7 separate regions of the Homo sapiens genome follow, and all the other regions are linked to region 1. Evidence: promoter capture Hi-C in 16 types of primary human blood cells and fetal thymus (Javierre and others, 2016). All regions are on one chromosome and are shown on one strand. Each heading gives the region's core, a stretch centred on a gene start or on the middle of the fragment in contact. The rest is flanking DNA. Distances are from core to core; before and after follow the strand shown. Region 1 holds the start of PSMD6-AS1 (PSMD6 antisense RNA 1). Region 2 has its middle 52 kb from the start of PRICKLE2-DT. Region 3 overlaps LOC105377123 (a long non-coding RNA gene). Region 4 overlaps PRICKLE2-DT (PRICKLE2 divergent transcript). Region 5 has its middle 13 kb from the start of PRICKLE2-DT. Region 6 has its middle 40 kb from the start of PRICKLE2-DT. Region 7 has its middle 71 kb from the start of PRICKLE2-DT.

Region 1 (2,883 bases), core at 279-2,778:
ACCCTTGGCTATATGGCAGAAGCGTTTGGTGTTGGTGTGGAATTCATTGATCAGTAAGTTTGAATAATGCCATGTTAATTGAAGTTTTAAAGTTGCCTTTTAAAATATGTGAACTTGTACAATTTTTTACTTGTTTACATTGGTTCCCTCAATCTTAACGGGGAGGGGAGAGGTTTTTTTCCTCAGTATTATCAAAACATTCGTATCCTGTTGCCTCTGCCTTCCTCATGTCATGTCTGCCCCTTGCATTAACAGATGGGAAGATGAGTTGTAGTGAGGCTAAGTGATTTGTTAAAGGTCATTAGACCAGTTGTTATCAAAAGTTGTCTTCTGTTACTTCTTTGTAGACCACACTGCAGCTACGGTAATGACTCTTAGATCTGATATTTACAGTTGGTCATATTCCCTCTGATAATTCCTTCCAGTTTTTAGGTTGCTGCTGCAATTCTGGTCAGATTGGTTGTTAAATGTGGGACTTTTAGTACTTGCATCAGTGATTAAACAAATAAATACTTAATGAGCCATTCATTACTATATGTTTGGTATTGTTTTACAGCTCCCTTTTCACACTTTCATTGTAGTAGTAGGGAAGAGATGGCAAGGAAGCAAATAAATATAAAACGTAATTTCACATATAGAAATGAACCTATGGAGATGAGAAAATGCTATCCTTACGTACGGCATGCTTAAGGAGGTGAGGTTTGCTCTGAGATTTGAATTGAGAGGAGTCAGCCATATGGAGTCCTTCTGCGTGCAGAAAAGGGAATAGAAAAGGCTAAGGCTTTGAGCCAGGAATAAGCTTGGATGTTGTAGGAACAGAAAATGTCAGGGTGGCTCCAGCATAGTTGGAGTGGTAGGAGATTTTGAGGATAATATATGGAGAGTTAGGTAGGTAATGATTTGTGTAGGGCCTTGTAGGTCATGGGATGGAGCTTGAGTTTTAAGTAAGTTTGATAGGGAGCCATTGGAAGATTTAGAGCCCAAGTTACATGGTCCTATGCAGTGTCTTTATATAAGAAATAGAGTAAGGTGGCAGAGAGGACCAGTTGTGCTGTTTAGTAGCTCTTAGAGGAGATGTTACCGTGGCGTGGACGAGGGTGGTGAGAGTAGAGTTGGGTAGGAGACATACTCAATATGGGATGTCCAGATGGCATCTAGATCAGTGGCTCCCACATGTAGGTGTTTTTAAATGTTGATGATGGTGTTTTCAATGGTCTGCAGTGGAAACTTTAAATGAAGATGCATTTCTTTTAAATAAGACCATTCTCTTTCTAGTATTTTTTAAATTTCGAACATCCATAAAATTGTAAAGAAAGAATTGTACAGTACATTTTAACATATTTGCTTGTTACAATCTATACATTTTATGTTTTTTAACCACTTCAAAGTAAGTTTCAGACACCAACACATTTTTTAAATGATCCCTACCATTTTTTAAATGATCCCTACCAAAATGGAAGGCTGGTATCCCAAGGTTTTGTTCCATTTCTCAATTCTAGTCTGTGAAATTGAAGTCTGATGACCACTCTTAAGAGGGCTGTTCATTAGGGTGCGGGCTGGGCATTATGAGTGTGTTTTTCATGAGTCAGTGGAAGGAGGGGCTTGTTGTGAGCAGTGCATGAGAAAAACGGCTTGGCTTTGCTTCTTTTTCCAGCTCTGTGGCCTTGGTCAGGTTACGTCTCTTCAGTATCGTAACTGTAATGTGGAGATAAAGCCTTCATTAGTTAGGGGCACACACCGCAGTATTCCTTAAGTCATCTTGATGACAAGTGAATGCAAGGCAGCTGGTACCTTTCAGGTAGTAGTTGAATTCAGGTAGTATTTGTTCAGTTTTTTTTTTTTCCCTTCATGTTCTAAGACCAGCTTGAGAGGCAAAGGTTGTACCACTGAGCTCTAGTTGTTGTTACCTAAAAAGGCCTTGTTTTAAATTTCTGTGATACCTAAGAATTTCAAATCTGGGTTGTCATGGATTCTTTATTCTTTTTTTCTCCCTTAAAAAGTTACATTTTAGATGAAATCCCCTTTTTTAAAATGGGCAAAGCAATAATTCTACATCATTTCTCCCCTTCCCTTCCACTTGTTTAGACTAAGATATGTTAGAGAGGGAAAGGGTCGTTGTTTTAGTAAATACTATTGCTGTTGACATGTTAATACTATTGCTGTTGACATGTTTACTGATGGGCTGTGTTCCATAATTTTGTTTTAGGTCTTTTGTTTGAAACAGTTTACTGTTTTTATCAGTTTTGGTCCCTAATTTTTCCTAACCTACAGTTTTTCTCTGAGTACATATGGTTTCATTGTTTGATCTACTTTCTATCTATCTGAATATGAACTTCTAGGATCATGTTTATTCTAGTAGATGATGACTTAAAGCCTGCAGTATAGGAGGGACAACGTCAACTACTGCATGTGCAATAACAAGCTTGAAGGGAAGCTAAATGTTTGTTACAAATTTAAGACAGTATTTTAATGCCGTTTGCATTTTTCTAAGAATTTTCTATAAAGCTAATTCTGTTATTTTTTGTCTCTAAATTAGGGAACTGTCCAGGTTTATTGCTGCCGGGAGACTACACTGCAAAATAGATAAAGTGAATGAAATAGTAGAAACCAACAGGTACTCTCATTTCTCAGAATAAGGGGCATTCCTAAATTTTAAAAGTAGGTCAACTATTGTCATGGAATAATGTGACTGGTAAATAATTCATTTTTTCTTGAATTTATTTATAGACCTGATAGCAAGAACTGGCAGTACCAAGAAACTATCAAGAAAGGAGATCTGCTACTAAACAGAGTTCAAAAACTTTCCAGAGTAATTAATATGTAAAGCCATGTAACTAACAAAGGATTTGCTTTAGAGATAATTATTTGGAATTTTTATAGCTT
Region 2 (2,883 bases), core at 114-2,613, 480 kb before region 1:
GGCTGCCTATTGGTGAATAGAATGTCATCAGGCTGGGAGAAAAGCAGAAAAACTAGTTAGGAAAAAGCTCTTAAAATAGACCAGTCCCAGCCGGGTGCGGCTTACGGTCGCAAGCCACGTAAGCCGCAGCCGGGTGCTCACACCTGTAATCCCAGCACTTTGGGAGGCCAAGGCGGGTGGATAACCTGAGGCCAGGAGTTCGTGACCAGCCTGGCCAACATGGTAAACCTCATCTCTACTAAAAATACAAAAATTAGCCAGGTGTGGTGGCACATGCCTATAATCTCAGCTACTCGGGAGGCTGAGGCATGAAAATCGCTTGAACCAGGGAGGTGGAGGTTGCAGTGAGCCGAGATGACACCAGTGCACTTCAGCCTGAGTGACAGAGCGAGACTCTGTGAAAAAAAAAAAAAAAGGGAGGGGGGAGGTCCAGAAGTCACAGTGATCTGCAGTGCCAGTGGAAATTGTGCCAAGTGACTATATTCTAGATGTCTTCTTAAGGCAGTACCACCATGTTTGGCTGAGGAATGTGAGACCAATAGAGGAATCCAAGAGAACAGTGTAACTGGAAGAACAGAGTGACTTGTTTCTGAGATGGAAGACACTGGCGAAGTAACAAATGGGGTCGGGGGATCAGGGGTTCAGTCGGACCCCTGATCCCCCGACCCCATTTGTTACACATGCCAGGTGGGAGACATCCGGGGGGAGAGTCAAGGAGCAGCTGGACACAAGCACCTGGAACTCAGGCTGGAGGTGGGAGCCAAGCTGTGGGCTGACTCTGATCCACCCTGAGCTCTAGATAGAATTTCCATCTGCTCTTTGGTGCCTCTATCAGGATGTTTACATGGCATCTCTGATGCTCAGCAAGAAGCAGTTACTATCTATTAGCACTCTCTGCCATGGGTGGCTGGTCTGGGTCAGGCTAGTGGAAGTACCTGGTGTATTCTTCCAGGAAAATAAGTAGTGTCATCTGAGTGGCTTAGCAGAATTTCTGGCTCCTTTTACAATGGAATTTCCAAGGTTAATGTACTGTACCCCAAATTTCTAGATCATAGTCGAGCCAGCTTGGATAACATGCTTTGGGTGTACAGTAGAGTTTAAGGATTTGATATCAAAACATGAGTCCAAATCCCTTCACTTGACACTTCCAGTGTTTAAGCATTAAGTTCCAGTGTTAAGCATGAATGCCTCCTACGTGCTGGTGTATTCATTTACTACGGCTGCCGCAAAAAATGACCACAAACCGGGTGGCTTAAAACAACAGAAATGTATTCTCTCACAGTGGTGGAGGCCAGAAGATGGAGCAGAAGTCAGACCAACTGTGCAGGGCCATGCTGCCTCTGGAGGCCTTAAAGGGGAATCTCTCCTTTTGCTCTTCCAGACTCTGGTGGCTCCAGGTGTTCCTGTGGGTACATCACTCCAATCTCTGCCTCCATCTTTGCATGGCCTTCTTTCTCCTCTGTGTCTGTGTCTTTGCCTGTGTCTCTCATGAGGACCCACTGGATTTGGGTCCTACCCAGATAATCCAGGAGATCCTTACATTAATTACATCTACAAAGACCCTTTTTCCAAATAAGGGTCACATTCACAGGTTCTAGGGGTTAGGATGTGGATGTATTTGGGGGTGGAGCAGGGACTATTCAAGCCACTACTGCTGGTTAGTGCCAGATAAAGGAAAGACGTAACCCATTCCCACAGTCCTCTGTTAATTCAATAAACATTTATTGAGTACATACTTTATATAGGACCTCATATTTGGCATTGCAGACACCAAGATGAAGATAATAGGCAAAGGCCTTACAAAGACCTCACAGTTTTATTGGGTGAATGGGATCAAAAAGGCTCAGCTCACCTAAGTATGCTGAGTCTTTCTGATCCCATTCCACTAATAAAATGTATTAAAAATAGTAGGGTATTCTCATATTATTTAATCCCCCCAACTCTGGAAGGTAGCTATTAGTGTTCTCATTTATGGATGCATATGCTGTGGTTCAGAGAAGTGAAGTGACTTGTACAGGGTGATGATTAGTAGGTGGTACAGCCAAGATTTAAACCTGGGTCTGCCCAACTGCAGCATACCCTGTTCTGTGCAATTCAGCATCAACTCCCCAATTATACCCACTGGGATATCACACGTGCACATAATTAAATGCTGACTTCTGTGACACAGAGTTCAAAATGGATATAAATGGATTTTTAAAATTGATTCTCATTTAAATATGCAAGGGAAATATTCTTGGAATCTTCTGGTCAGCCCTTTCTGGGAAGCACTCACTTTTATATTCTGCAAATCTACATGTGCCGGTCTTAGGTTTGCTTAAAATATGGTAGTCTCAGAGGCCTTGATCCTATTAAAGAACAGAAGAAAGATAAAACTTGTCTTTGCCTGGGCTTTGGCAACCCAGGCTCTGTATTTTGTCTGAGAGAGATACTCTCAAATATGTTGTATCAAAAAAACTATTAATTATAACCAATATTGTTTTGTAATTGATTATAATTTGATTGGACACAGACTCACCAACCAGTACCCTGGAAAAGTACCCCTTGTATAAAGACCAAGTAATCAGAAACACGGGTTTCATGTACAGTTCTTACCTGGTAAGGAAGTGAGGTTTCATTTTCTTTTCTTTTTCTAGTGTGGCCTAGCAAACAGGAGACCTGGGTATACTCTTAGCAATGACCTGAGCCCGGTGATACAGGGCACATTGCTTTCAACCTCTGAGACTCAAGCTTCTCATCACTAAGGTGAATGTTTGTACTAGGTGATCTTTGAGGTCCCTTTTGGCTCAGAAGTATATTAACTGTGAGGCTAAATGTTTGGTGCTAATTATATTTGCTGGGATATGGGTTCTTTATGGCTAGGCTTAGTTTACATTTTTTATG
Region 3 (2,883 bases), core at 208-2,707, 460 kb before region 1:
CTCCTCTGCCCCTAGTGGCTGACCATCTAGTCTAGGGAACCCTTGCTCTTTGGCACTTAGCTGGGTTCAGCTAATGCAGAACCCCCGCAGGAGATTGCAAGGAGGGAGAAGAAAAGATGGGTGCCCTTCCTTCCAAGGTCTCAGCCAGCCTGTGTGTCCCCAGACTAAGGTCTCTGTTCCTCTCAAGCTCCACAACTCCCTAAGGTTCTGCTAACAGCTTCCTTCCCTCGTCCCTTAGACCTGAAGATGGTGAGCCCTTGCAAGGTTACTTCGCTTGCCTTCATGTTCTCCTGCACATGCACCTCTCTAAATGTCCCCTTTCTAAATAAATCTTCCTCCATTTCTCCTAACTCAAGTGTGACAGCTGTTTCTATTGGGTCCCTGATTGACATACTTTCCTTTGGCATATGGATGCATTCTGGTTTTGCTGTATTTCTATTCCTGGTTGCTCTGTGAACCTCATGACTAAGATTTACCTCCCCTTCCAGACATCACTTGGATTCAAGGTATTTGCTGTTCTTAAAACTGAATTTCTCAATTTCACTCTCTTTGAACCAAACATCCATCTGTTCTTTTTCTTTCCTTCTCTCTTTTTCTTCTTCCCTCCTTCCCTCCCTACCTCCCTTCTTGCTGGGTAGTGATGAATGAGAGCACTAGCATTAGTCTGCTTGAGTTAAATTCTCAGCTTGTTATGCAACCTCACCCCCTTAAGCTTAAGTTTTCTCATCTGGCAAATGGGGACAATGATTGCATTGTCATGAAGATTAAACAAGATCTTAAGATGGTGTTTGGGCCTGGAATGGTGGCTCACACATGTAATCTCAGCACTTTGGCAGGCTGAGGAAGGCAGATCGCTTGAGGCCAAGAGTTTGAGACCAGCCTGGCCAACATGGCAAAACCCCATCTCTACTAAAAATACAAAAATTAGACTGGCATGGTGGTGGGGGCCTGTAATCCCAACTACTCTCGAGGCGGAGGCAGGAGAATCACTTGAACCTGGGAGGTGGAGGTTGCAGTGAGCCGAGATTGCACCACGGCACTCCAGCCTGGGCAACGGAGTGAGACGCTGTCTCAAAAAAAAAAAAAAAAAAAAAAAAAGAATTGTGTCTGCACAGTCTGAGGTTCCTCAACATTTGTGGAATGATTATTTCTGTGTGTCAGGCTACTCCCTAATCTCTGATATCATAATCTAAATTTCCAAAGATTCTCTTTCTTGTGCCTGTAGCTGGTGGATGGCTTCTTCCTGCAATACTTCTCATGGTCCTGAATTGACCTTTTGAACCCTGGATTTTAAAGGCATCCTTAATTTCCATGGGCCCAGTACAATCAGAGAGCAAATTCTTAACCTAATTCTTATACTTTAGTTTGCTTCCCCCGACCCCCACAGTTACTGGTAAAGAAAAAGAAAAGGAGCTTTAAATTGTCTTATTATTTTTAGTATCTCCTACGAAGTACTAGATATTCAGAATGCCATAGAGAAAAGCATGAAGAGGAATTTTTTTCTTATGGAGGTGATGGGCATAGCAGGAGGGAGAATTTGACACCAGTTCTAACAGGGGAAAGAAAAGTACAGAATGCTTTGCATGTGGAGACTATGGAAGTATTTGTGGTTTTACAGTGGAGTTGATCAAGATTATAGAGGAAGTATTTGAGACCAAAGGTTAGCTTGAAGATTTAGGAAGATCTGTGCCTATAAATTCTCCATTACATGTCTGTTCCATTAATCATTCAAAAAAGTGTTGATTATATGATTTTTCACTTCTAAACTCCTGAGAATTGTAGGAAAGGGATTAGGAAGGAGGTGTGTGTGTGTGTGTGTGTGTGTGTGTTTGTGTGTGCAACTCACAGAGAAAGAGTTAAGGATGCAGTTACATCCACAGCTGAACTAATTTTCTTGATGCTCCGTTTATTTCATATTTTTATTTTCTCAAGAGTCCCCCAAAATAGCAATTTATACACATTTGTCTTCCCACCTAATTTTGCTTTAACAATAGTTAGGAAAACACAACCAGATGCTTTTTTTTATAAAAAGGCTTCTACATGTTGACATCAACGTCAAAATTAGCCCTCAGTCTCCAGAAAGTCACTTTTCTCAGTTCAATTAATAATTAAGTTGGAAAACTCACCTCTTAAGTTCTGGGACAACATAGCGGGGGTCAGAACACTGACCTGTCCTCAGGGAAATCAACCAGCTAAGCTTCTTTTTCTTGCAGTTCCCTGGGCAACCATTCCCTAAACAAGGTTCTCCATTTAACAATTAAATTTTAATTACCTAAGCAAGAGATAAATACATTCTCTTTTTTAAAACTTAATGTATCACAGATGAAGCTAAAGTGCCCTTGGACCACTATTTCTAATCATGATCTTCTTTACTGAAGGTTACAAGTTTGGGGTGTATCTTTATAGAACTTTTATTTTGCATTTTCCTAAATCTATATACATGTCCACATAGCAAGTGAGTAGCATTACTGTGTGCGCACTTTTTCCCTTGGTTTCTTACAGTCCATGGTAGTTTTTCCTGGACCCCTGATCTTGAAGAACACCAAAGACCAAACTGCAAAACCCAATGGTTGATTGCATCTCATTCTTCCCTTGGGAGTAGGGAGTTGACTTAAGCCCATTGTCTTTGTATGATAAATAATTGATAATAACTTAATATGTGGTTGGGGATACTTTATTTTCATTTCTATTTTATAATTTGTTGGTCATTAGGAGAAAATTAGGGGAAAATCCCTCTAAACCATATTCATAGAATTTGTGTGCTGGAAAGATCTTAGAGAGTATCTATTTAACACATCAAAAAATGGGTTCCAGAGGGGAAATGGAGCATTTGCAAACGTAGCAGGCCTGGGTCCTCTCTATTTAAATAAGCAGCAACAGGAG
Region 4 (2,883 bases), core at 138-2,637, 440 kb before region 1:
ACCTGCAATACCCAGAGAACGTTATAAGGGGCCCAACTGATAACCCATGGTAGCATTTCTCAAAATCCTTTTCTCTTTCTTTCTTGATTTTCTCAATTATACCAAAGCTTCTCATTCACCACCCCAAACCCAAACATCTCCAAGAGCAGCCCACTTGCCTTTTCAAGCTCTCTGTCTTTGACCTCTGTTCTCTCTCAGCAATACAGTATTTAGGTTGATTTTGCCTGTCTGACTGCCTTCATCCCTCTCTCTGCCTTGCCCATTACCCAGACTTTTCACAACAAAGGAGAGCCCATGAAATGTCTAACAAAAATCTTTCCTCCTTTCTTCCGTTCTACCTGGGCCTGTTTCTTTTTGCCCAACATCCTGATTTTGCATTTTTTTAAGCCAGAAACTGGGGAAAGGAGAAGCAGATATCAAAGACAAAATTCCCTTTATTGAAAATGACAGGAAAGGGTTAAAATTGGGCACTGTTGCACATTAATAAGCCTTGTGTTCATCACAATAATGACTTCCCCATCTGCCATTGCAAGACCACAGACCCCTACATGGTTTACACATTTGCTCCTCATTCTTCTTGCCATCTCCCCACCCCTAACATGTGTCATAGGTGTTCACAAACAAATCCCATCAACTACCAACTCAGGTATGTATTTTTTTTCCCCATGCCCTACTCTAGTTCCCTCCCTCTGATAATGTCTATGGCTAAGTTCTTCCCTGATTACCATGTTGGGGGATATTAAACAATACTGCTTCATGCACCAGTGACTTATAGTGAATTATGCCATCACACTTAGAATTTTAGTCTCTTCATGAGCTAAACCTGATGACTTAATTTCTCTGTGTGTCAGCTTCCTCATCTGTAAATGGGCAACCATAAAAATCTTACTCAAGGTGTTGTGAGAATTAAATTAACTTGAGTAAAGTGCTTAGCACTGCAAAATGTTGGCTCTCTACATATACCAACATTTCCATTCTTCTTTTTACCATTCTTTTTTGGAGGGGACAGGAAGAAGAGAAAGGTGAGTCTGCTAGGAAGTGAAGAGGACCTGGTGAAGACTTAGAGCAGGAGCCAGCAAACTATGCTAGACCAAACTGGACCTACTGCCTGCTTTTGTAAACAAAGCTTTATTGAAACACTGTCACTCTCCTTCATCTATGGCACTTTTGTACTACAATTGTGGAGTTGAGTTGTTGTGATAAAGACTGTATGATCCACAAAGCCTTAAATAGCTCCTATCCGAACCTGTACAGAAAAATTTGCCAACTCCTGATTTAGAATATAAAAACAGAATCACTTTTTCATACACTTTGCCATTGATGAGATGAATGTCATATGAGGCTTTCTCTTTCAAGTGAAGTGGTTAACTATTGTCTGAGTTTCTGCATCTGAGTCAACCCTTACCGACAGCAAGAGTTAACATCTCTGAGGCCTAATCCAAAGTAAGGTTATGTTCTTTAGAAGCCTGGCCAGTTCTCCTAGGAATACAAGGAATGCAGTGTGAGATAGTATTGCAATTCTGATAAGGCCACTGGGACAGGGATGCCCAAGGGCTCATGCATGTCCGTGCTTCTCCTCTTCTTAGGCGCAAAGCTAGATGATGCTTTCCGGTTCTCTTGCAGTAAAGGAGGCCATGTCTCAAGCTTGTGCCAATGAAATCTGGGGAAAATACGTCCACCAGTCCTCACTGACTCTTTACCTTCTCTTTTCTTGTCTGCAGGTCGGATTCAGACAATCCGGTGGAGCACTCTGAAATTTAGAGGAAGTGGTCAAATAGAATTTTCTGGAATTATGGAAATCTTCTATTCTGTGCATCTAGTATAGTAGAATCTAGTCACATGTGGCTTTTGAGAACTGGAAATATGGCTAATGCAACAGAGAAAGTGAATTTTTACTTTTGATTCATTTAAATATAAATGGTCACATATGACATCACTGCCATATTGGACATTGCAGTTCTGGAAGATGGCAGATGCAGCCCTCAGAAGAATTATCAGCCTGAATGTCTGGGCGGAGCAGAGCACTACCTTCCCACTCACTCTTCCCCTCCTCTCGCCCCCTCCCCTGCCTCACTTGCATCAGATTATGATGTGAGCAAAAGCAGGAAACAGCTCTTTTGATAGGCCTGTGAGACTTGCTGTTCGTTGGAGTAGCTAGGCTGCTCTGACTCATACAGACCCAAATCCTGGCAACCACTTTTATGAAGAAATGACAATTCAGTCTACTACTTGTCCATTTTACATGCCCAAGGAATGTGAGGGGCCTCTGCTTGGATCTAGTTTTCAACCTAGTCTATGGCATTGATTATCCTTTTAAAAGACAAAAGAGGTGACTTCACGGGCACTTAACATCTTGGCCATACTGACCCCAGTTGCACGCTACGTAGGAAGTTTTAGTCCATTTAAACTGAAGTTCCAATTTTTTTTTTAACAACTATTTAAAAATTGTACATGTCCCATACATGACAGAGAAAGGGTTGTCTGGTTGGATGATTTTTGGCTTGCAAAAAGAGAACACAAAAGAAAAGCATACGTTTTAATACTCAAGAGACCAAATTTTCTGCTGAAGAGGAAATGAACTACATATCCAGAAGGGTCCTACCAAGAGGCCAAACAGACTGTGTTCTCTTGGGGGAGTTCTCAGTGGTGATGAGAACACCACTTTTTTTTTTTTTTTAGTCATTTTCAAGGTGAGATATTGACTTGCTGCTGGAGCAGGACAACTGGTCTCTCTTTCATTGCTAGCAGCAGAGTAAGGGTCTTGCAAGTTTCAGGCAGCAGCAGAGAAAGGGTCTTGCAAGTTTCAGTCCAAAGCAAGAAGAGCTAGGATTGCACCAGCTGTCTCACCTACTCTGTGCTCACCTGTTTCTGGATGAAGCACGG
Region 5 (2,883 bases), core at 150-2,649, 420 kb before region 1:
ACCCTGCGTCCCACCAACTGGACAATGGAGATTCATGTCTGTGATGAAAACCACACATCATCAAGGCAATACTTAATCAGTTTCCCTCTAGCCTGCTTAATAAGTATGAGTTTTTTTGACTCCCGTTGTGCCACATTAAACATTTCCATTTACATGGTCACAAGTCCCTAAGTAGAAGCTCCCTCTTCTGAAGCATGAGAGACATGGATATTTATATAAAATTTGAACCTGAGATCACACTCTGGAAACTCCTGAGATTAGATCTGGCCTATAGGTGTATTTTGTTAGCATTGCACAGGCTTTAAATTTTAAATTAGTGGCCAACATTTAAGATATTGTGTAAAAATTCAGATTTGGGCTTTCTCTGGAAAGATGACACTATCTGGCAAAAGTAGCCTAATATTTCTTCTTTTCCTTTAAGATGAGACGTGTTCAACTTTTTTACAGTTTCCACCATTCCCTATTGTCTTACACCTGGCCTGCCTTGCTCATTTACATTACTCATCGGCCACTGCAGACATCAGATTTTGTGACTACTGATTTGAAAGAAACCAGTGAGTGAGTGTACATGACTGGAAGGATGAAATGAATGGTGGGGTGGCATAAAGTCACTACCTGGCAGGGGCAGCTGTGCTAAGCAAGTCGTCTCAGCAGCTAAGCCCTCCCTTTCTGGGAGATACAGTAAAGGAGGAGCAGACATTATTGAGGGCCTGCTGTGTGCTTGATTTCTTTCAGGAATCACTTCATTTCATACTCAAAACAGTTTCCTGAGGCGTGTCTTTTATCTTCCACTTTTTAAGTATGGGGACTCAGGGAGGTTAGGTAGCATGCATTCATTCACATTGGTAAATAAGTAATGGAATCAGGATTTGAAGTCAGGTCTTTGAGGCTCCAGATTACAAGCTCTTGAACCCAGAGTGTGTTGAGCTCTGGCATTTGATTCTTCTGGTCTAAATATAAACCTGTACCTTGGGGAAAACAGTTTTATATTCTCTATGACCTGGGGATGAGATCTGACTAGTGTCTAAAACAGAACAAAATGTCTGAAGAACCCTGGACTAGTTGGTTTATTTGGGGCAAGAGTCTTAAAAGGGAAACTCCTTCAGATTAGAGGTTGTGGGGTTGAGCTTACCGAGGTGTCTGAAATGTGCCACCTTGAGAAAAATGGAATCGAATGCAACGTGACTTCCAGTTCCATAGGAGGCCACTTGCAGTTTTCTAATCAGATCTGACTACATTAAATGAGGCTCCATTCAGCTTGTTAAAAACTTGGGTGTAATTTGGGCTGTCTGGGAGAGTTTGTGTGTGGGGAGGGCAGCTTTAAAAATGCCATTTGCATAATGTTTCTAGAGGAAAACTCTACAAAAGGGATCAGTCAAGGGAGGGAATGTACGGTACCTCCTTTCAGCAGCCAACTATACATCAACAAGCATAAAAATAAACAAGATGGTCGTTATCCAGCCTTTGGACCTAGGCTTTTGAATATATGTAGCGACCTTTGGTGTCACATTGGCAAAACAGACACAAGCACATTTGACTGTTGGAAGGCGTTTAATGAGCACATTATTTGATTTTTGTGTTTGGTAAACTACTTGGTGATGCAGAAACAGCTTTCGCAATTCTTAAAAACCGGCTCATTATATGTACCTATAACACCCAGAGTGGGTTCTCCTACTTTGAGTGCTGAGGAATTAGGCCTCCAGGGGACTTATTAAAAGAATGCAGGTGTTTGCTTTCTTCAACAACACTATGAAATTACCCCGATAATATAATTTCCTAAAGTCTTTTGTTCCACAGTCAGGCACCCAGGGGTACTCCCTGTTATTTGCATCCTTGGTGACTCGGCCTTTGGAACTCCTCCAGCAACATATTGAGTTGTTTGGAAACACAATGACAAGCTCCTCTCATCTTTATGAAGCCAAAAGTTTGGAGACAATAGATAATTGAGGAAAGCGTTGTTCATTTTTGGGTTTGGCATGTTTGTAGCCACAGAGAAGGACACATTACATATGTTTTCCTGGGTTCTGGGAGATGGAACTTTCTTTTTTTTTTTGGTAAAATTTTGGTGTAACAGCTTTTTTTTTCCTGTAAGTCTTCCATGTATTTTTAAATTGTTTTTGAGCTTTGAGTTGGTAGGAGATGCTCCTTACAACCTTTGATTTGCAAACATTTATTCCTTGGTTTAACCCATCATCATTATGACCACCATCACTCAACTGACTTACCACAAACTGGGTAAATACTTATCTTTCTTTAATTATCTTGGTTTTTAATTAACCTTTCTTAAATGTATGCATAGCTTCCATCTTATTTCAATGTTTAATATTTGAAGTGTTTTGGGTCTTTATTTAGAAGTTTGTTTTTTTTTTTCCCCCCAAAAAATTCAACTTTTCTTTTAGATTCAAGGGGTACATGTGCAGAGTTGTTACATGGTTATATTGCATGATGCTGAGGTTTGGGGTACAAATGATCCCATCATCCAGGTAGTGGGCATAGTATCCAATAGGTAGTTTTTCAGCCTTTGCCCTCCTTTTTCTTCTCTACCCTCTAGTAGTCCTCTGTATCTCCTTGATAAAAACATTTTTAAGGCAGGTGTACTTCTTATTCTAAAATAATTTTGATCAAATTGTTGGATGATAAATATGCAGTTTAGACAATTTGGAAAATGCAGCAAAGTCCAGCGATTTACGCAAAAAACAAGCACAACTTTATAAGCCAATCACCAGTACACTTAGCACTAGTCTGTGATTTCCTTCTAGTCTGTTTTTGTGGAGGCTAGAAGTCCAAAATCAAGGTGTCATTAGGGTTGGTTCCCTCTGGAGGCTCTGAGGGAGACTGTTCTGTGCCTCTCTCCGAGCCTCCAGTGGCTGCTGGCAATCCTTG
Region 6 (2,883 bases), core at 257-2,756, 390 kb before region 1:
ACCTGAAAGGTGACCAGATGATGGGGCGGAGGGAGCATGAGTGTCCCTAGCAGAGGCGACAGCAGGCGCAAAGGCCCTGAAGCAGGAAGCCTCTTACCACATTTGATGGGCTGAAAACCAGGGCGGCTGCCATGCAGGAAACAAGGCAGAGAAAGAGATGAGGTGGAACAGGATGCCCGGACCAGACCGTCATGGATATTAAGGATTTTATCCTAAGAACAGCGGGAAGCTGTTGAACGCTTTTACACAGGGGAGTGACATGATTCGATTTGTGCTTTAAAAAGATCCATCTTTCCCTGTCTAGGTCCAGAAAGTGCAGGTTTCTCTCCAGACCATGAGAGATTGATTTTGTCCCCTGCTGGGCAACTCTGATATGGAGTCTTTTGAGGTTACCACTACCATTAGTGCCTGTACCCAACCTCCAACCATCCTAATTTGGAACCTTTTAAAACTTTAAATAAAAGAAGCAATTTCTGTCCGTGTTCTACCTTTGTTCTCCTTCTTTAAACCGTGATTGAAGCTGGGCTTGGATATCTTTGAAAACCCCAGAGAAGAAAATGATTTCCATAGCAGCTGTAACCATGGGAAACCTTCAAAATAGCTTCCGTTCCTATATTCCACTCTGCTCCTTTCCCCTCTCTATTGGTTGACTAGAAATGAGGGCTGGCATTTTTGGTCTTCTTCTTTTTGTCCAAATATGTGTATATGAGAGTCTTCTTTTCACTTCCACATCCATCTTATCATAGCTTGAGAATCAAAGGCTGGCATATTTGGGGAGGAAAAGAAAAGAGAAGCTTCTAGGATACCTTCATTTTTTCATAAAATAGAGGAACCAAGTGGAATGTTGATTTAGAAGATGAGATCTCAGGTTTCTTTTCCTGCTGTTTGTTTCTTCCCAGGTCACAAGATAGGACCAAGTACATCATCTTTCAGACATACAAAGATCAAAGGTTTTTTTTGTTGTTTTTTTTTTTCGGAGACACTTAAAAGTGGTTTTCATCAGTTTCCCTTCCATTCTGCTCTCACATGCGCTTGGTAGTGAGCCGTCTCGTAGTCAGGTCAGAGAGATGCTCAGAATTCTTCCAGAAACACATAATTCCCCTTTGGAGAGTTTCTGTTGTAAAAATCATCACAATTTGTGAGCTTAATTTCTGGTCCAGTGCAAAAACCTCTGATGGGTACAGGGCAAAAGCGGGCTACTCAGTGTTTCTCTTGATGGACAGATTTTAATGAAATGAGGGCATGACAAGGAATCTGAAGTAATTGCTATAGAAGTTAATAAAGAGATGGGAACATATGAGGATACTGTTTGCTTCTGGAATTTAGCCAGGCCACTGGGAGAGGCTCAGGAGGAAAACTGAGAAGGGAAATATGAAGTTCAGGCAAGTCTGTTACATGCATTCTCATTTCCACAATGTTTGAGAACCATGTCAAGAAATGCATTGCATAAGTTAAACCAGCTGCCAGCAGCTTTGTATTCAGCACTTTCCTGGGTCACCAGATAGCAGGGAAACCTCTCCAAGATCTCTGTGTATTATAGAAAACTAGGGGAATTTTCTTTATGCAACATCCTTATCCTAACAGTGCAGCATCTTTTTGTCTCCGGAACTCACTGTATAAAAAGAAGTAACTATTGTTGGGTTGTGCTTATCTTTATTGTTGTATGTTTGGGTTTATGTTTTCAAACAAGGGATGGAGGACCTGGCAATCAGTCAGAATCATGATGCTGGCATTTAAGAGATTCATTCTGGCTCAAGAGCTTGGCCTGGCCTTCCAGAGCTTTCCCATTGACACCCATGTGCCTGATTAGAGTACACTTGTAAAAATTAAATAAGATGACCTATGCAGTGTGCCCCACATATGCTCCATAAATGTCAGTTCACATTTCTTGTTAAACTTTTATAAGGTTGATCTTAAGAGACGACAATTGAGTCTGTCTAAGTGAACCATCTGGGGGGTGAGCATGTTGATGTATCTTCCACAGCTTTAGTTTTCCAGGAAGCACATGGGATATAGTCAAATCAAGAGACAGGATGGTACTGATAGTTTCTTTAGTCTCTTGCTTGCTTGCAGTTAAGCTAGTTAGCCTGAATGCACTCCTTCTCTCATAGCAGTCTCCAGAGTGACTCTGTTAGCTCACCTGGCTAGCATGCTGTGGCCTCCTTGAGGCGTCTAAAGTTGGCTGTCACTGCCTGAGATACTGGTGCCTCAAGCTTAGAAAACTCACTTTACCAAAGTCAGCCTTCACGAACATGTTATTCCTGGTATGAAAGTCCCTAGTCTTTAAATAACAATTGCCTCTGTTACCTTTAGACTATATTTTGGCTCATTAAATTTTTTTTTAGTATGCATCATCTTCCAAGAGTGCATTGAGAAATTTCTAGATTTAAGACCTCCTTTCTTCCCAGACCCTATTGCTCAACTCGTAATAAACAAAAGATTTTACTTAAATAATTTCAGAGAAAACTACCTTTATTTCTTTGACTTATATAGAATCTTAGATATCGGAATACTCTTGGGAAGTACCTGGTATATCCAATAAAGAAAATTGATTTATAGGGAGAGTAAGTGACTTTTCCTAAGGAAACATATTTGGTGGCATAGCTGAGACCAGAATCTGGGTCTAATGTGGTATTTTTCAAACTAAGTGTATAAGTCTTCTAAAAATTTAAGAAATTATTTTAAAATATTAATATTTTAAAAATTATTTTACTAGTTATAAATATAAAACTTCTATTTTATAATGGGCAGTTCAGAACTGATAAATGTTTTAATTGCATAAGATTTTGGTTACCTACATTTCTCTCAAACTAAGCCCTAACCCATAGAGACTGGCAGGTGGTGGTGAGAGGGTTGAGCAGATGAGGGCACCGTGTGAGACCT
Region 7 (2,883 bases), core at 216-2,715, 360 kb before region 1:
GTCTGCTGTTCTTGGCATCTTTGTTGAAAATTAATTGACTATAAATTTGCTGGTTTATTTCTGAGCTATACATCCTATCGCATTGGTTGATGTACCTTCTTATATGAGTACCATGCTGTTTTGATTACTATAGCTTTGTAATATACTTTGAAATTTGGTAATATGATGCCTCCAGCTTTTTTCTTTTGGTACAAGATGCCTTTGACTATTCAGGATCTTTTGTGGTTCTATATGAATTTTAGGATTGTTTTTTCTATTTCTGTGAAGAATGACATTGACATTTTTGGCACAGATTACATTGAATCTGTAGATTGCTTTGGGTAGTATGTACGTCTTAACAATATTCTTCCAATTTATGAACACACGATATACTCCTATTTATTTGTGTCATCTTTAATTTTTTCCATTGAGGTTTAATAGTTTTCAGTATACAGACCTTTCACCTCCTTAGTTAAATGTACTCCTAAGTTTTGTTTGATGCTATTATAAATAGAATTTTCTTAATTTATTTTTCAGATAGTCTGTTATTAGTGTATAGAGATGTTACTAATTTTTGTAAGTTGATTTTGTATCCTGTAACTTTACTGAGTTCTTTTATCAGTTCTAATAGTTTTTTGGTGGTGTCTTTAGACTTTCTATATATAAGATCATGTCATCAGCAGAAAGAGACAATTTCACTTCTTCTTTTCCTGTTTGGAAGTCTTCTATTTCTTTCTCTTCCCTGATTGTTCTGGCTAGGACTTCCAGTACTATGCTGTCTTTTTGCTTTTGATGGTGGTGGTGATGATAGTGATTGTCATGATGGTGGTAGCTGTAATGAGGGTGGAGGTGGGATGGAGGAAGTTATAATAATAATGGTAGTTATAATGATATTGGTAATAGTGATAGTGGCAGGATGGTGGTTAATATTTTTTGAGTACTTTCTCAGTTCCAGACCTTGCTCTAAGCAGTTATATCTGATGTCTAGTCCTTCTGCTTTGGGCAGAAACCCAAGATTGTTCCTTCCTGGATTGTTCCTTTTTCTCACACATTCCGTAAGACTCTCAGCAAGCTTGGATCAGCTCTGCTTTCAAAACCCAGCTCTATCTTACCTGTGTGGACATGTCCTTTGCTATCACCATAGGTCCAACTACCTCCCTCTTTTACTTTCTTTCTGATAGTGACCTTCTCCCTGGCCTCCCTGCTTCCAGTCTGGCCTCTTATAATCCATTCACACCACAGGCAGTGTGATGTTCTAAAATTATATATCCCCCTTCTACTCAGAACCTTCTGAATGGCTTCCCTTCAAGCTGACAATAAAATCTAAGACCTTATGACCATGGTCTTTAGTCCCCAAATTCCCATTTTACCAGCCTCATGGCCTTCCACTCTCCCCATTGTGTGTTCTGCTGTTGTCAGATATGATCCTTGAGTACACCACATCTTCCAGTTGTGGCTCCTGCCGTTCACATCTTAGCATGGTGTGTTCCCTTGTTTCATTTAGGCTTTCCTCAAATTAGACTTCCTCAAAGAGGACTTCCCTGATCACCCTCTATTAAATAGCAGCCTGCCCTCCCTCATCCCTCACCTTCTATCTATCTCATTTACCCCATTAATAATTTCTTCACAGCACTTAACACTCAGCCATCATATTGTAAAGTTTAATAATATATTAGATCTAGCAGAAAATGTGTCCCTTCTAGAATAAAACTTTGTAAGGACGGGACCTCTCTGAATTATTCATCTTTGTATAATTTTGGTTTAGAACAGTGTCTGGCTCATATTATGGCCTTCCATCATAAGTCTTGGTGGAAAGAATTAACAAAATGGGAGCTTATATGATAAAAAATAACTCTAAGAGTTATAGTTTCCTTTTACAGATGAGGAAACTGAAGCTTAGAAAGATAAATTATGCCCTAGACTTCTGAGAACAAAGCTAAGCACTTCAATTTTTCTGAGAAGCTGATTGTATAGAATCTTGGGTTTATAACTCATTTGAACTTCTCATTCAGAGCTCCAACCCTGGCAGGCCTAACATAATGTTTGCCCAACTATTAAATATATAATCCTTGGCATTTGTTGTGTGCAAGGTATTTTAGATAATTAATTGATGAGGCATTTCTGTCTTATTATGTTTTTTGCTTCAGTAACAGAATAACAGAAGCTGGGTAATATATAATGAGCAGAAATTTATTGGCTCCCATTTCTGGAGCTGAGAAGTTCAAGATCAAGTAAGCAGTGCCTGGCAAAGGCCTTCTTTCTTTGTTATTCCATGATGGAGGGTGGAATGGCAGGAGAGTACTAAAGGAGAGAGACAGAGAAAGAAAGAGATAAAGGGGGCCAAACTCCCCCTTTTATAATGAACCCACTCCTACAATATTGGCATTAATTATTCACTTCACTATCATGGCCTAATCACCTCTCATTAGGCCCTATACCCCAACAGTATCGCATTGAGGATTAAGTTTCCAGTGCATATTTTTGGGGTGCATATTCAAATTATAGTAATTAGTATTCTTTATTTTTTATTTCTTGTAGAGATGAGGTCTAGAACTCCTGGCCTCAAGTGATCCTTCCACTTTGGTCTCCCACAGTGCTGGGATTACATGTGTGAGCCACTGTGTGCAGCACGGCAATTACTATTAAGTCACAGCGAATTTACTGGGATGATATATATATATTTGGCAATGGCATGTTTTAAGTTTTCATTGTATTTTTAACCACTTTGTTGAGATGTAATTCATGTCGTACAGTTTACCAATTTAAATTATATAATTCAATTTTTTTTAGTATATTCACACAGTTGTGCAACTGTCACTACAATTTTAGAATAATTTTATTACCGCTGAAAGAAACCTCCTAATACACAGTAGCAGCTGCTTTCCATTTCACCCTAACTCAAAG

What was found. Contacts are between HindIII fragments. The CHiCAGO score rates a contact against its expected background, and 5 or more counts as called.
Region 2: a fragment that was not itself captured here is called in contact with the fragment with the promoter of PSMD6-AS1 in region 1 in 7 of 17 cell types (activated CD4 T cells, megakaryocytes, naive B cells and 4 more); the score reaches 9.7 in activated CD4 T cells.
Region 3: a contact is called between a fragment that was not itself captured here and the fragment with the promoter of PSMD6-AS1 in region 1, in 13 of 17 cell types (megakaryocytes, endothelial precursors, naive B cells and 10 more). The highest score is 13.8, in megakaryocytes.
Region 4: a fragment that was not itself captured here is called in contact with the fragment with the promoter of PSMD6-AS1 in region 1 in 2 of 17 cell types (megakaryocytes and endothelial precursors); the score reaches 10.4 in megakaryocytes.
Region 5: a contact is called between a fragment that was not itself captured here and the fragment with the promoter of PSMD6-AS1 in region 1, in 1 of 17 cell types (megakaryocytes). The highest score is 6.0, in megakaryocytes.
Region 6: a fragment that was not itself captured here is called in contact with the fragment with the promoter of PSMD6-AS1 in region 1 in 3 of 17 cell types (megakaryocytes, endothelial precursors and naive B cells); the score reaches 12.0 in megakaryocytes.
Region 7: a fragment that was not itself captured here is called in contact with the fragment with the promoter of PSMD6-AS1 in region 1 in 1 of 17 cell types (megakaryocytes); the score reaches 6.4 in megakaryocytes.

The regions. Positions count from the first base shown.
Region 1 is chr3:64,010,609-64,013,491 of GRCh38, reverse strand. PSMD6-AS1 (PSMD6 antisense RNA 1) reads right to left here and starts at 1,528. Exons shown (of 2, transcript NR_189168.1): 1 at 1,450-1,528. It overlaps PSMD6 (proteasome 26S subunit, non-ATPase 6), which reads left to right. Exons shown (of 8, transcript NM_014814.3): 6 at 1-53; 7 at 2,537-2,614; 8 at 2,728-2,883. The coding sequence ends at 2,824. PSMD6-AS2 (PSMD6 antisense RNA 2) reads right to left here. Exons shown (of 3, transcript NR_038286.1): 3 at 1,249-1,695. The HindIII fragment of the contact is 1,623 bases long and covers 802-2,424 here.
Region 2 is chr3:64,495,358-64,498,240 of GRCh38, reverse strand. No RefSeq gene overlaps it. Among named protein-coding and RNA genes, the nearest start is that of PRICKLE2-DT, 52 kb to the right of the region's middle. The HindIII fragment of the contact is 2,738 bases long and covers 1-2,732 here.
Region 3 is chr3:64,472,364-64,475,246 of GRCh38, reverse strand. All of the region lies in intron 3 of LOC105377123 (a long non-coding RNA gene), which reads left to right. Among named protein-coding and RNA genes, the nearest start is that of PRICKLE2-DT, 29 kb to the right of the region's middle. The HindIII fragment of the contact is 1,485 bases long and covers 715-2,199 here.
Region 4 is chr3:64,453,604-64,456,486 of GRCh38, reverse strand. PRICKLE2-DT (PRICKLE2 divergent transcript) reads right to left here. Exons shown (of 4, transcript NR_183714.1): 4 at 417-1,750. It overlaps LOC105377123 (a long non-coding RNA gene), which reads left to right. Exons shown (of 8, transcript XR_940913.3): 8 at 1,722-2,883. Among named protein-coding and RNA genes, the nearest start is that of PRICKLE2-DT, 9.8 kb to the right of the region's middle. The HindIII fragment of the contact is 518 bases long and covers 1,129-1,646 here.
Region 5 is chr3:64,430,706-64,433,588 of GRCh38, reverse strand. No RefSeq gene overlaps it. Among named protein-coding and RNA genes, the nearest start is that of PRICKLE2-DT, 13 kb to the left of the region's middle. The HindIII fragment of the contact is 9,934 bases long and covers 1-2,883 here.
Region 6 is chr3:64,404,156-64,407,038 of GRCh38, reverse strand. No RefSeq gene overlaps it. Among named protein-coding and RNA genes, the nearest start is that of PRICKLE2-DT, 40 kb to the left of the region's middle. The HindIII fragment of the contact is 1,419 bases long and covers 797-2,215 here.
Region 7 is chr3:64,373,152-64,376,034 of GRCh38, reverse strand. No RefSeq gene overlaps it. Among named protein-coding and RNA genes, the nearest start is that of PRICKLE2-DT, 71 kb to the left of the region's middle. The HindIII fragment of the contact is 823 bases long and covers 1,054-1,876 here.